Linked DNA regions of Homo sapiens: all the other regions are linked to region 3. Evidence: promoter capture Hi-C in human tissues and cell types (Jung and others, 2019). All regions are on one chromosome and are shown on one strand. Each heading gives the region's core, a stretch centred on a gene start or on the middle of the fragment in contact. The rest is flanking DNA. Distances are from core to core; before and after follow the strand shown.

What was found. Contacts are between HindIII fragments. The study calls those that stand out against the background at their distance.
Region 1: a fragment that was not itself captured here is called in contact with the fragment with the promoter of THAP11 in region 3 in 1 of the 25 tissues and cell types used here (heart right ventricle).
Region 2: a fragment that was not itself captured here is called in contact with the fragment with the promoter of THAP11 in region 3 in 12 of the 25 tissues and cell types used here (IMR-90 fibroblasts, adrenal gland, bladder and 9 more).
Region 4: a fragment that was not itself captured here is called in contact with the fragment with the promoter of THAP11 in region 3 in 7 of the 25 tissues and cell types used here (IMR-90 fibroblasts, dorsolateral prefrontal cortex, lymphoblastoid cells and 4 more).
Region 5: a fragment that was not itself captured here is called in contact with the fragment with the promoter of THAP11 in region 3 in 9 of the 25 tissues and cell types used here (adrenal gland, dorsolateral prefrontal cortex, hippocampus and 6 more).

Annotation. Positions count from the first base shown.
Region 1 is chr16:68,008,261-68,011,084 of GRCh38, forward strand. No RefSeq gene overlaps it. Among named protein-coding and RNA genes, the nearest start is that of DPEP2NB, 6.2 kb to the right of the region's middle. The HindIII fragment of the contact is 3,801 bases long and covers 1-2,824 here.
Region 2 is chr16:68,031,627-68,034,326 of GRCh38, forward strand. The region is part of intron 2 of DUS2 (dihydrouridine synthase 2); the gene reads left to right. Among named protein-coding and RNA genes, the nearest start is that of DUS2, 9.7 kb to the left of the region's middle. The HindIII fragment of the contact is 8,004 bases long and covers 1-2,700 here.
Region 3 is chr16:67,840,831-67,843,620 of GRCh38, forward strand. It overlaps THAP11 (THAP domain containing 11), which reads left to right and starts at 1,490. Exons shown (of 1, transcript NM_020457.3): 1 at 1,490-2,790. The coding sequence starts at 1,725. The coding sequence ends at 2,669. The region is part of intron 1 of CENPT (centromere protein T); the gene reads right to left. RefSeq lists enhancers at 1,204-1,253, 1,706-2,452, 2,164-2,323, 2,764-2,790 and a silencer at 1,504-1,683. The HindIII fragment of the contact is 20,232 bases long and covers 1-2,790 here.
Region 4 is chr16:67,590,820-67,593,519 of GRCh38, forward strand. The region is part of intron 2 of CTCF (CCCTC-binding factor); the gene reads left to right. Among named protein-coding and RNA genes, the nearest start is that of CTCF, 30 kb to the left of the region's middle. The HindIII fragment of the contact is 6,285 bases long and covers 1-2,700 here.
Region 5 is chr16:67,606,968-67,609,667 of GRCh38, forward strand. The region is part of intron 2 of CTCF (CCCTC-binding factor); the gene reads left to right. Among named protein-coding and RNA genes, the nearest start is that of CARMIL2, 37 kb to the right of the region's middle. The HindIII fragment of the contact is 5,706 bases long and covers 1-2,700 here.

The DNA of each region.
Region 1 (2,824 bases), core at 1-2,500, 170 kb after region 3:
AAATTTATCTGATTGTCCAATTTTTAAATAATTCATTGGTTTGAACTGTAATGGAGCTCAGACCGCCCACATTGTAAATGGTTGTTATGACTCAATCTTCAGGTTCTTCTTTTTTTTGTCTTCCTTGCAATTTCTTTGTTGAAAAAATCACGTCCTTGTCCGTTAGAGTTTTCCATGTTGTAGAGTTTTCTGATTGCATCTCATGGTGTCATTTAACATGTTCCTGTGTCCTTGTGTTTTCTATAAACTGGTAGTTAAGGCAAGCTTTTATTTATTTAAAATTTTTTTTTCTAATTCTTTACTGTTAATATTTTTTGTAGAGATGGAGTGCTGCTGTGTTGCCCAGGCTGGTCTCGAACTCTTGGGCTCAAGCAATCCTCCCACCTCAGCCTCCCAAAGTGCTGGGATTACAGCCATGAGCCACCATGGCCAGCTGAGGGGAAGCTTTTAATACTGTGGATTTCTAGGCCAGTACCCTAAAACTTTAGACTGGTGTGGGTGCTGGGGATCACTTTTTTTTTTTTAAGACCGAGTCTCGCTCTGTCACCCAGGCTGGAGTGCAATGGCGCGATCTCAGCTCACTGCAAGCTCCGCCTCCCGGGTTCATGCCATTTTCCTGCCTCAGCTTCCCGCGTAGCTGGGACTACAGGCACCCACCACCACACCTGGCTAATTTTTTTTTTTTTTTTGTATTTTTTAGTAGAGACGGAGTTTCACCGTGTTAGCCAGGATGGTCTCGATCTCCTGACCTCGTGATCTCCCCGCCTTGGCCTCCCAAAGTGCTGGGATTACAGGTGTGAGCCACTGCGCCTGGCCGGGATCACTCTTTTTTAAGAGCCCCAGTTGAGTCTATTTGTTTCAGCTTTGGGAACTGCCAAACTATCCAGGCCATCCAGGAACCACAAATCTGCTTCAGTCACGCCACGGATGAGAGACTCTGGGGGTTAATGGAGACTCTCACAGGGAACTTTCTGGGAGCCCAGGGCCTGTGCCTCCTTCCTTTAACCCAAGTTAGGAAAACCTATCAGGACCTTTCCTGGCCTCCATGGTATGCGTGTTGGGGGGAGGAGCAACAGTCTTGCTGCTGGGACCCCTAAGGACAAGTGAGTTGCTGACAGTGCCGCCTTTTTCTGGGCTGCTGATACAGGCAGACTTGGGACAAACGTCATGGTGTTTCTTCTCTGCTGACTGCTCCTCCATCCCCCAGTCCCCAGCACCAGCTGTCCCAGCTGCAGAGAGAGACAGTCCCCCTGGTAACAGCCAGCACCTCACTACCATGGCACGCAGCAGTCAGACGGATCTTTTTAGCATCTATATCAGATTACTTCCCTACCTTATTCAGATTCCTCCATGACTTCCCAATATACTTAAAACAAGATCCACTGTCCTTACCGTGGCTGGCACGGCCCACTATGGTCTGGCCCATGCTTACTTGCTTACTTCCTTACTTCTCCAACCACCTTTTTCTTTTCTTTCTTTTTTTTTTTGAGACAAGTCTCACTCTTGTCCCTCAGGCTTGAGTGCAATGGCTCGATCTCGGCTCACTGCAGCCTTCGCCTCCCGGGTTCAAATGATTCTCCTGCCTCTGCCTCCCAAGTAGCTGGGATTAAGGCGCCTGCCACCACACCCAGCTAATTTTTGTATTTTTTAGTAGAGACAGGGTTTCACCATGTTGGCCAGGCTAGTCTCGAACTCCTGACCTCAGGTGATCCACTAGCCTCAGCCTCCCAAATTGCTGGAATTACAGGAGTGAGCCACTGCACCTGGCCTCCAACCATCTTATTTTTTTTTCCTTCCTTCCTTCCTTCCTTCCTTCCTTCCTTCCTTCCTTCCTTCCTTCCTTCCTTCCTTCCATCTTTCCTTCCTTCCTTCCTTCCTTTCTTTCTTTCTGACAGAGTCTCACTCGTTGCCTAGGCTGGAGTGCAGTGGCAGGATCATGGCTCGTTGCAGCCTATACCTCCTAGGCTCAAGCAATCCTCCTGCCTCAGCCTCCTGAGTAGCTAGGGACCACAGGCATTCACCACCACACCCAGCTGATTTTTTGATTTTTTGTAGAAAGGGCACCTCCCTATGTTGCCAGGCTGGTCTCAAACTCCTGGGCTCAAGTGACCCTCCCTCCTTGGCCTCCCAGCCACCACATCTTTCAATCTCCTCTATCTTTCTTCCCTGGCCACACTGGCCTTTCTGCTGGCCCTCAAATTGGTCAGTCTTGTAGGCCGGGTGTGTTGGCTCACACCTGTAATCCTAGCACCCTGGGAGGCCAACGCTGGCGGATTACCTGAGGTCTGCAGTTTAAGACCAGCCTGGCAAACATAGTGAAACCCCATCTCTACTAAAAACACAAAAATTAGCCGAGTGTAGTGGCATGTGCCTCTAGTCCCAGCTACTCAGGAGGCTGAGGCAGGAGAATCACTTGAACCTGAGAGGCAGAGGTTGCAACGAGCCAAGGTCGCACCATTGTACGCCATCCTGGGAGACAAAGTGAGACCCCACCTCAAAAAAAGAAAAAATGGATCAGTCTCATTCTTACCATTATACTTGAAATTTCCTCCAGTAATGCTCTCCCTTCTACTCCTCACGATTCCCTCACATCTCAGCCACAATGTCATCATCTCAGAGAAGCCTTCCCTAACCACCTGGTGTAACACAGCACACCTCATTACTGTATTCTCTTATCCAGTTTCATTTTTCTTTATACCAGTTATAGTTATCTAAAATTATATTGTTTGGGGAGGCTGAGGCAGGACAATGGCGTGAACCCAGGAGGCAGAGCTTGCAGTGAGCCTAGATCGCGCCACTCCAGACTGGGTGACAGAGCGAGACT
Region 2 (2,700 bases), core at 129-2,628, 190 kb after region 3:
ATTTTTCTTTAATGTCTTTTTTTTTTAAGGTTAACAGGATATTATGTCCATGTAACTGAAGTTAAGGTTATTATTTTTTATTTTTTGAGATGGAATCTCACTCTGTTGCCCAGGCTGGAGGGCAGTGGTGCGATCTTGGCTAACTGCAACCTCTGCCTCCCTGGTTTGAGTGATTCTCCTGCTTCAGCCTCCCGAGTAGCTGGGATTGCAGGTGCACACCACCATGCCTGGCTAATTTTTTTATTTTTAGTAGAGACAGGGTTTCATCATGTTGGCCAGGCTGGTCTGGAACTCCTGATCTCAGGTGATCCTCCTGCCTTGGCCTCCCAAAGTGCTGGGATTATAGGCATGAGCCACCTCGCCCAGCCAAGGTTACTGTCTAAGAAATTGAGCGTAATAGAGGAGACCAGCCCTTAAAAGGAATGGTAGAAGAGATTGGAAATGAGTGACTAAAGTGGTGATGTGGGTGTGATCTCAGGGTGGGGTGAGTGGTTGTGGCAGTAACTGGGAAAGGCATGGGGGCTGCCTAGTTTTTCTCAGAGGAGCCTCCTTAGAGGCAGGGTGTGTCAGGCACCTCTGACTGAGTGCCAGAGGAAGTTGCCAGACCAACCACCCTACAAGAGGCTGTCCTCTTGGCTACCACAGTGGTAAGTATTCAGTCACACCTTACTAAGCAGCCTCTAAAGGTCATGTACCTGGCTCAGTGCTAGAAATCTGGCAGTGAACTAAGCAGCCACACTCCTGTTCTTGTAGAGCTTGTTGTCCTGGTGGTCTCCAGGAGGAGCTGAGGATTGAACAAGAAACTACAGCAGTCAGTGTGGACACATGGAGTGTAACTGAGCTGCAGAGAAATGTAGGGTGTTTGGAAAGCATGGGACCAGGGACCTGAATTTGATTTTCTGTAGGGACGTATCTTCACAAAGGGGGCATTCAAGGACAAGGGGACCTTAGCATGGGCATGCATGACTGAGTTGGAGGAGTATTCCAGACAGAACTGCAAGTGGGCAGGCCCCAGGGAAGCAGACAGTTTGGTGTGGGAGACTTTAAAGGAAGGCCAGGGTGGCCGGGCACAGTGGCTCACACCTGTAATCCCAGCTCTTTGGAAGGCCAAAGTGGGTGGATCACCTGAGGTCAGGAGTTAGCTGGGTGTGGTGGTGGGTGCCTGTAATCCCAGCTACTCGGGAGGCTGAGGCAGGAGGCTGAACCTGGGAGGTGGAGGTTGCAGTGAGCTAAGATTGCGCCACTGCACTCCAGCCTGGGCAACAGAGTGAGACTCCATCTCAAAAAAAAAAAAAAAAAAAAAAAGGGAATGCCAGGGTGGCCAGGGCCGAGAGGGAGGGTGAGAGAGACACAGGTGAGGGTGAGGCTGGAGAGGTGGGTAGGGACTGATCATGCAGGGCCTTGTGGGCCATTAGAAAGGTTTAGGATTTTTCCTAAAGTCAGTGGGAAGCCATTGAAAGGTATAAACGGGGGAGTGGTATTATCAGAGTTGCCTTTTTAGGATCCCATGCTGGCAGAATGGATAGGAAGGGGCAAGTGTAGATTTTGGGAGACACATTTGGGGGCTGTGCTAAAGTCCTGGCAACAGATGAGCGGAGGGTTTCTGGTGCGCAGTTGTGGCCATTGGCATGTAGTAAAGCATGTGGGTTAGTTATATTTTGAAGGTTATTTCAATAGAAGTCAGTGATGGATTGAATGTGGGGAATGTGGGTTAAGAATGAGTAATTGGGAGACTGGAGATGCTATTAATGAAATGGGAAAGATTTTCTTTCTACATATTGGACTGGTTAACATGTTCTCTTCCTTTAGACCTTGGATCAGAGATTATTTCTTTTTAAAATTATTTTTATTTAAAAATTAAAAAAAAATTTTTTTTGAGACAGGGTCTTGCTCTGTCACCCAGGTTGGAGTGCAGTGGCATGATCATGGCTCACTGCAGCCTCAACCTCCCAGGCCCAAGTGATCCTCCAACTTCATCCTCCCAAGTAGCTGAGACTACAGGTGCTAATTTTTTTTTTTTTTTTTTTTTTTATATAGAGTCTTGCTGTGTCACCCAGGCTGGAGTGCAGTGGCACAATGTCAGCTCACTTCATCTCCTGGGTTCAAGTGATTCTCTTGCCTCAGCCTCCTGAGTAGCTGGGATTACAGGCGCATGCCACCACGTCTGGCTAATTTTTGTATTTTTAGTAGAGATGGGGTTTCACCATATTGGCCAGGCTAGTCTTGAACTCCTGACCTCGAGTGATCCACCCACCTCGTCCTCCCAAAGCACTAGGATTACAGACATGAACCACCGTGCCCAGCCCAATTTTTGCATTTTTTGTAGAGATGGGGTTTCACCATGTTGCCCAGGCTGATCTTGAACTCCTGAGTTCAAGCAATCTGTCCACCTTGGCCTCCCAAAGTGTTGGGATTATAGGCGTGAGGCACCTTGCCTGGCCTAGTTTTATTTTTATTTTCAAACAGGGTCTCACTGTCACCCAGGCTGGAGTGCAGTGGTATGATATCAGCTCAGCTCGGCAACCTCTGCCTCCCAGGCTCTAGTGATCTCACCTCAGCCTCCCTAGGAGCTGGTACTACAGGCATGCACTACCACTCCTGGCTAATTTTTATGTTTCTGTAGAGATGAGGTCTTGCCATGTTACCCAGGCTAATCTCCAACTCCAAGCTGATCTCCCATCTCCAACTCAAGCGATCTCC
Region 3 (2,790 bases), core at 240-2,739:
GCTTTCCACAACATTTTGTGTTCTTTAAAACATTTTCCCCCAGCCAGGCGCCGTGATCCTAGCTCACGCCTGTAATCCTAGCACTTTGGGAGGCCGAGGCGAGCAGATTGCCTGAGCTCACGAGTTCGAGACCAGCCTGAGAAACATGGCGAAACCCCGTCTCTACTAAATACAAAATACATATATATATATATATATATATATATATATATATATTAGCCGGGCATGGTGGCATGCGCCTGTAGTCCCAGCTACTCCGGAGGCTGAGGCAGGAGAATTGCTTGAACCCAGGAGGCGGAGGTTGCGGTGAGCCGAGATCTCACCATTGCACTCCAGTCTGGCGACACAGTGAGACTCCTTTACAAAAAAAAAAAAAAAAAAAAAAAAAAAAGATTCCCTCAAATAAGTTGAGGTGGGGGGAGGTGTATTGTTACAATGCAAATCCTTTCCCATAAAATCCTTTAATAGCTCTCAGTGGCCTGCAGAATAAAACCCCAAATCCTTAACATGTCCCAGTTTGGTATTTTCCTACGCTTGGCCCTACCCGGGCCACCCCTTTCCAGGCTCTTTAATGGCGGAGCCTAGCTCTTTTCTGCCATGTGGCCTTACAGACTGGTTCCTGGGACAAGAATTGGCTACTTCTCCCTACCCAAGCTTTCGTTCGTTTTTTTATTCCTGGCCCCCACCACCTCCCCCCCATTTCTCTGCTCTCCTGTTAATTCCTTTGGAGCGATTACTATTTGTGAGTAGACATCCATTCGCGTGCATTCAGATCTATTATCCAAAAGACAGACGCTTATCCGTCTAGGTAGTCAGGCTCCAAGAGAGGAGCCCAGTCGGTCTGACTCCCGCAAACTCCCGGCACCGTGTCAGCCACATAGTAGGCGTCTACTGGAGACTTTGTTTAGATCAGTTAGTCAACGCAGGCAGCAGCTGAATCAGGAGAGAGTCCCCAACGCAAAGAAAGGGGCTCCTGAGACCCTTCGGGGCGCCGAGGCCCAGGTTTCGTCTCCCTCTGCTGCAGCAATGCCGTCGACTCAAAGGGGCTCGGGGCTGGGGAACTGGTTCTGGCAAACAGCACAACCTCGCCCGAATCCTGGTCCGCAGTAACTCGATCTTTCCCTTAGGCGGCGCTTCGGAGGGAAGGCGCCTAGTTCAGCGCGAGGCATCACGGGATTTGTAGTCTCCGTGGGCATATACCCACCGCGCTTGCGCACCGGTGAGGCGCGCACCGCCCCGCTCCACGCCCCTATCAGGATTCGGGTCCTCGTGAGGAGCAGTCCAGGCGACAGCGTTCCAACCTAATACGCCTCTCTCGCCCGCCGGGGACAAGACGGGCTGGGGAAAGAATCTGCTCTTCGGAGGCTATCGCAGTGCCTTGGAAGGCGGCAGGAATCCGCACACACCCGCCCCGGAAGTGAGCCGCTTCTGGCGCGGGGCATTGTGGGGGGCGTAGTCTCTTTCTCAGGCGGTCCTTCGCGGCGTCCCCGGGGCCCACTCCCGAGCGCAGGCGGGCAGCCAGGCGGGCGGCGCGGCGCGGGCCGGCAGGAAGCGTATTCTGGGCACGGGGCGCCGGGCGGGCCGGCTGCGCCGAGCGGCAGTGGTGGGATACCACCCAAGGCCTCGCGCGGCGCCGCCCGTCGAGGGGCGGGCGGCGGCGTAGCCACTGGGCCGTCGAAGAGCGCAGGAGGCCGGTGGGCCGGGCCGGGCCGCGCGGCGCAGCCATGCCTGGCTTTACGTGCTGCGTGCCAGGCTGCTACAACAACTCGCACCGGGACAAGGCGCTGCACTTCTACACGTTTCCAAAGGACGCTGAGTTGCGGCGCCTCTGGCTCAAGAACGTGTCGCGTGCCGGCGTCAGTGGGTGCTTCTCCACCTTCCAGCCCACCACAGGCCACCGTCTCTGCAGCGTTCACTTCCAGGGCGGCCGCAAGACCTACACGGTACGCGTCCCCACCATCTTCCCGCTGCGCGGCGTCAATGAGCGCAAAGTAGCGCGCAGACCCGCTGGGGCCGCGGCCGCCCGCCGCAGGCAGCAGCAGCAACAGCAGCAGCAGCAGCAACAGCAGCAACAGCAGCAGCAGCAGCAACAGCAGCAGCAGCAGCAGCAGCAGCAGCAGTCCTCACCCTCTGCCTCCACTGCCCAGACTGCCCAGCTGCAGCCGAACCTGGTATCTGCTTCCGCGGCCGTGCTTCTCACCCTTCAGGCCACTGTAGACAGCAGTCAGGCTCCGGGATCCGTACAGCCGGCGCCCATCACTCCCACTGGAGAAGACGTGAAGCCCATCGATCTCACAGTGCAAGTGGAGTTTGCAGCCGCAGAGGGCGCAGCCGCTGCGGCCGCCGCGTCGGAGTTACAGGCTGCTACCGCAGGGCTGGAGGCTGCCGAGTGCCCTATGGGCCCCCAGTTGGTGGTGGTAGGGGAAGAGGGCTTCCCTGATACTGGCTCCGACCATTCGTACTCCTTGTCGTCAGGCACCACGGAGGAGGAGCTCCTGCGCAAGCTGAATGAGCAGCGGGACATCCTGGCTCTGATGGAAGTGAAGATGAAAGAGATGAAAGGCAGCATTCGCCACCTGCGTCTCACTGAGGCCAAGCTGCGCGAAGAACTGCGTGAGAAGGATCGGCTGCTTGCCATGGCTGTCATCCGCAAGAAGCACGGAATGTGAACTGGTGCCCCGGCAGCCTGCTGGACTCCCAGACCCCATCCAGCCAGGGGACCGCAGGCCATTGTTGAACTCCTCTATACTCCTGGGCACTGGTTGACAGTACTGAGGCTTAAGGCAGCTG
Region 4 (2,700 bases), core at 149-2,648, 250 kb before region 3:
GATGTTTGGTGCCTGTAATCAATCCCAGCTACTTGGGAGGCTGAGGCGGGAGAATCGCTTGAACCCGGGAGGTGGAGGTTGCAGTAAGCTGAGATGGCACCATTGCACTCCAGCCTGGATGACAGAGTGAGACTCTGTCTCAAAAAAAAAAAAAAAAAAAAAAATGCTGGACTGGGTGGCTCACACAAATGCTGTGATTACAGGCGTGAGCCACCGTAATCCCAGCACTTTGGGAGGCCGAGGCGGGCAGATCACTTGAGGTCAGGAGTTTGAGACTAGCCTAGCCAACATGATGAAACCCCATCTCTACGAAAAATACAAAAATTAGCTAGTCGTGGTGATGCGTGCCTGTAATCCCAGCTACTCAGGAGGCTGAGGCTGAGAATTGCTTGAACACAGGAGGCAGAGATTGCAGTGAGCCAAGATCTCACCACTGCACTCCAGCCTGGGTGACAGAGCGAGACTCTGTCTCAAAAAATAAATGAAAATTAATGTCAGAGAAGTGAGAGGTACAGTTGTGATTAAATAGATGAGTGCTTTTTCAGATAAAGGCTGCTTCCGTTCCCAGTCACTGTGAAAGAAATGGTCACTATTATTTTTCTGCTTCTCAGCCCAAGTTATTCTCCCAATTCAACTCCTCCTCATTCTTTATTGTAGTCTACAACTTTCCTGGTACTAGTTCACTGATACTTTGCTTTGATGTATTTTAAGCTCTCAGATAAGATGATGGCGTATATGTTTTCAGGAATAGCAGAGTAAAATGGTTATTTTGTTTAACTTTTAAACCTAGCTTTTACTCTAAAAGAGTTAATAACTTTTATTCGTTTTGGCTAGTGTCCTGCATCTAGTAAAAGTTACTTAGCTTTTCCTTTCATCCTCAGGAAAAACTGATTACTTTTTTTGGGGGGGGGCAGTAAGGGCACAGAGTCTTGCGCTGTCACTCAGACTGGAATGCAGTGGTGTGATGATAGCTTACTGCAGCCTGGGCTCAGGCGATCCTCCCGCCTCAGTCCCGAGTAGCTGGGACTACAGATGGATGCCATCATACCTAGCTAATTTTTTTTTTAATTTTTAATGGAGACAAGGTCTCACTATGTTGCTCAGGCTGGTCTTGAACTCCTGGGCTCAAACGATTCTCTTGGCTCTGCCTCCCCAAGTACTGGGATTATATGTGTGAGCCACTGTGCCCGACCTGATGACTTATAATTGCTTTTTTTCCCCTCCTTGTCCTAATGTCATTTAACATTCTGTATAGTGAGAATACCAGACTAAGCTTTTCAGTCAACATTTTTCTAATGTAAAGATCTATCGACTGGACGCAGTGGCTCACACCTGTAAACCCAGCACTTTGGGAGGATGAGGCGGGCACATCACCTGAGGTCAGGAGTTTGAGACCAGCCTGGCCAACATAGTGAAACCCTGTCTCTACTAAAAATACAAAAATTTGCTGGGCATAGTGGTGTACGCCTGTGATCCCAGCTGCTCAGGAGGCTGAGGCAGGAGAATTGCTTGAACCCTGGAGGCAGAGGTTGCAGTGGCCGGGATTGTGCCACTGCGCTCCAGCCTGGGTGGCAGAGCAAGAATCTGTCTAAAAAAATAAATAAGGCCAGGCACAGTGGCTCATGCCTGTAATCCCAGTAATTTAGGAGGCTGAGGTGGGAGGATCACCAGAGCTCAGAAGTTTGAGACCATCCTGACCAGTATGGTGAAACCCTGTCTCTACTAAAAATATAAAAATTAGCCGGCATGGTGGCATGCGCCTGTAGTCCCAGCCACTCGGGAGGCTGAGACATTAGAATTATTTGAGCCCAGGAGGCGGAAGTCGCAGTGAGCCAAGATCGTGCCACTGCACTGCAGCCTGGGTGACAGAGTGAGACTCCGTCTCAAAAACAACAACATCAAAAAAAGATACTTACAGAGGCCAGGCGTTGGTGACTGGCTCAACGTCAGTAATCTCAGCACTTTGGGAGGCCGAGGTGGGTGGATCACTTGAGCTCAGGAGTTTGAGACCAGCCTGGCCAACATGGTGAAACCCCGTCTCTACTAAAAATACAAAAATTAGCGGGGCACAGTGGCATGTGCCTGTAGTCCCAGCTACTTAGGAGGCTGAGGCAGGAGAATCGGTTGAACCTGGAGGCAGGGGTTGCAGTGAGCCGAGATCGCGCCACTGCATTCCAGCCTGGGTGACAGAGTGAAACTCCATCTGGAAAAAAAAAATTTATATATATATGTATAAATGTTTAATATATATTTTATATTTATATATTTGTATATCTTTTTTATATTTTAATATATGGTTTTTAATATATATTTTATACATATAAAGAGAAAGGTGCAAGGTATCTTCTGTTCTCTTAAAATTTTTTACAATTTCAACTTTTATTTTAGATTCGGGGGTACATGTCCAAGTTTTTTTGTGTACATGGGTATATTGTGTGATTATGAGGTTTGGGGGTACAATTGTTGCTCATCACCCAGGTAATGAGCATAGTACCCAATGATTAGTTTTGCAGCCCTTACCCCGTTTTCTCCCTCCCCCTCCTAATCCCTAAGGCCTATTGTTATGTTTATGTCCATGTGTACCCAGTGTGTAGCTTCCACTTGTAAGTGAGAACATGAGATACTTGGTTTTCTGTTCCTGCCTTAATTCGCTTAGGATAATGACCTCCAGCTGCATCTGTGTTGCTGTAAAGGACATTA
Region 5 (2,700 bases), core at 43-2,542, 230 kb before region 3:
TTTGAGACAGAGGCTCGCTCTGTTGCCCTGGCTGGAGGGAGTACAGTGGCCCAATCTCAGCTCACTGCAACCTCCACCTCCCAGGTTCAAGCAATTCTTCTGCCTCGGCCTCCTGAGTAGCTGGGATTACAGGCATGTGCCACCACACCTGGCTAATTTTTGTATTTTTAATAGAAACGGGGTTTTGCCGTGTTGGCCAGGCTTGTCTCCATCTCCTGACTTCAAGTGATCTGCCCGCCTCGGCCTCCCAAAATGCTGGGATTACAGGCCTGAGCCACCACGCCTGGCCCCTATTTTACTCTTGTTTAGGTAATGTCATTCACAAGATTTTTGTTTGTTTTTTATTTTTTGTTTTTGAGACCGAGTCTCACTCTGTCGCCCAGGCTGGAATGCAGGGGCACTTTCTCAGCTCGCTGCAACCTCCACCTCCAGGGTTCAAGTTCTTTTCGTGCCTCAGCCTCCCAAGTAGCTGGGATTACAGGTGCACACCACTACGCCTGGCTAATTTTTGTATTTTTAGTAGAGATGGGGTTTTGCCATGTTAGCCAGGCTGGTCTTGAACTCCTGGCCTCAACTGATCCACCAGCCTTGGCCTCCCAAAGTGCTGGGATTACAGGCGTGAGCTACCGTGCCCGGCCCATTCACAAGATATAAGAGCCAAAAACTATGAATTGGCTGATTTGTTTTCTGCTTTCTATTATATATTCAATTTGGTTGGCATTTATTGAGTACTTACCATCCTGGGCACAGTGCTAAAGAGTAAAAACCGTGGCTGGGCGTGGTGGCTCACGCCTGTAGTCCCAGCACTTTGGGAGGCCGAGGCGGACAGATCACGAGGTCAGAAGTTCAAGACCAGCCTGGCCAACATAGTGAAACCCCGTATCTGCTAAAAATACAGAAAATTAGCCAGGTGTGGTGGTGGGCACCTGTAATCCCAACTACTCCGGAGGCTGAAGCAGGAGAATCACTTAAACCTGGGAGGCAGAGGTTGCAGTGAGCCAAGATCACGCCATTGCACTCCAGCCTGGGCGACAGTGCGAGACTCCGACTCAAAAAAAAAAAAAAAGTAAAAACCGGTTGGGCGCAGTGGCTCACACCTGTAATCCCAGCACTTTGGGAGGCCGAGGCAGGCGGATCACGAGGTCAGGAAATCGAGACCATCCTGGCTAACATGGTGAAACCCCGTCTCTACTAAAAATACAAAAAATTAGCCGGGCATGGTGGTGGGCGCCTGTAGTCCCAGCTACTCGGGAGGCTGAGGCAGGAGAATGGCGTGAACCTGGGAGGCGGAGCTTGCAGTGAGCGGAGATCGTGCCACTGCACCCTAGCCTGGGCAACAGAGCGAGACTCCGTCTCAAAAAAAAAATTAAAAAAAAAAAAACGACTTGTTAGATGTGGTTCTTATTCTCAGGGAATTCCTGATCTCATTGTCAGGAGAGAGGTGAATGTCAAGTTGATGGTATGACATGGGCAGTTTTGTGCAGTGTCTACAAACACGGCCATTGCAGTCTGGATCTAAGTTCTGAGTTTGGCTTCAAAAAACAAGGTCAAAAACCCTTGACAGGGTGGGGAAAATGGGGAATTGCTGTTGAGTGGGTATAAAGTTTCAGTTATGCAAGATGAGTAAGTTCTAGAGATCTGCTACACAACATAGTTCCTGTATTAATCGTATAGCATTATGCACTTTGAATTATGTTGAGGATGGATCTCATGATAAATATTATCACCAAAAACAAAATACAAGGAAATTTTGGAGGTGTATTTAGTGTTTTTTTTTTTCTTTTTTGAGACGGAGTTTCGTTCTTGTTGCCCAGGCTGCACAGTACAATGGCGCAATCTTGGCTCACCGCAACCTCCACCTCCCGGGTCAAACGATTCTCCTGCCTCAGCCTCCCAAGTAGCCAGGATTACATACAGGCATGCACCATCACACCTGGCTAATTTTGTATTTTTACTTAGGACGGGGTTTCTCCATGTTGTTCAGGGTGGTCTCGTACTCCCGACCTCAGGTGATCCACACACCTCAGCCTCCCAAAGTGCTGGGATTATAGGCGTGAGCCACCACGTGCTTAATAAAGCTACCTTAATAAAGCTTTTTACAAAACATTGGCAGACCCGGGCACAGTGGCTCAGTCACATGTATAATCCCAGCACTTTGGGAGGCTTAGGTGGGAGGATTGCTTCAGCCCAGGAGTTCAAGGCCAGTCTGGAAATGTGGCAAGACCCCATAATTGCAGAAAATTAAGCTAATTCATATATGCATCATCTCACATCCTTGTCATTTTTTGTGATGAGAACACTTAAAAATCTGCTCTCAGTTATTTTCAGGTATACGTTATTATTAACTGTAATATTCATGTTGTATAATAGATCTCTTGAACTTATTCCCACTGAAATTATATGTCCTTTACCAGTGTCTTCCCCACTACATGTGTAAGATTTAAATTAGTTTTGTTAGTAATTCTTTAATATCATCAGATATCCAGAGTTGAAATTTCTAATTGTCTTGTGTCACATCTTTTTCACCATTTATTGGTTTGAATCAGGATCCAAAGAAGATTCATGCATTGTGATTGATTACTGTCTCTTTAAGACTCTTTTATCTGTATCAGAGTTTCTCAGCCTCAGTGCTCTTGACATCTTGGGCCTGATAATTCTTTTTTTTTTTTTTTTTGAGATGGAATCTCGCTCTGTCGCCCA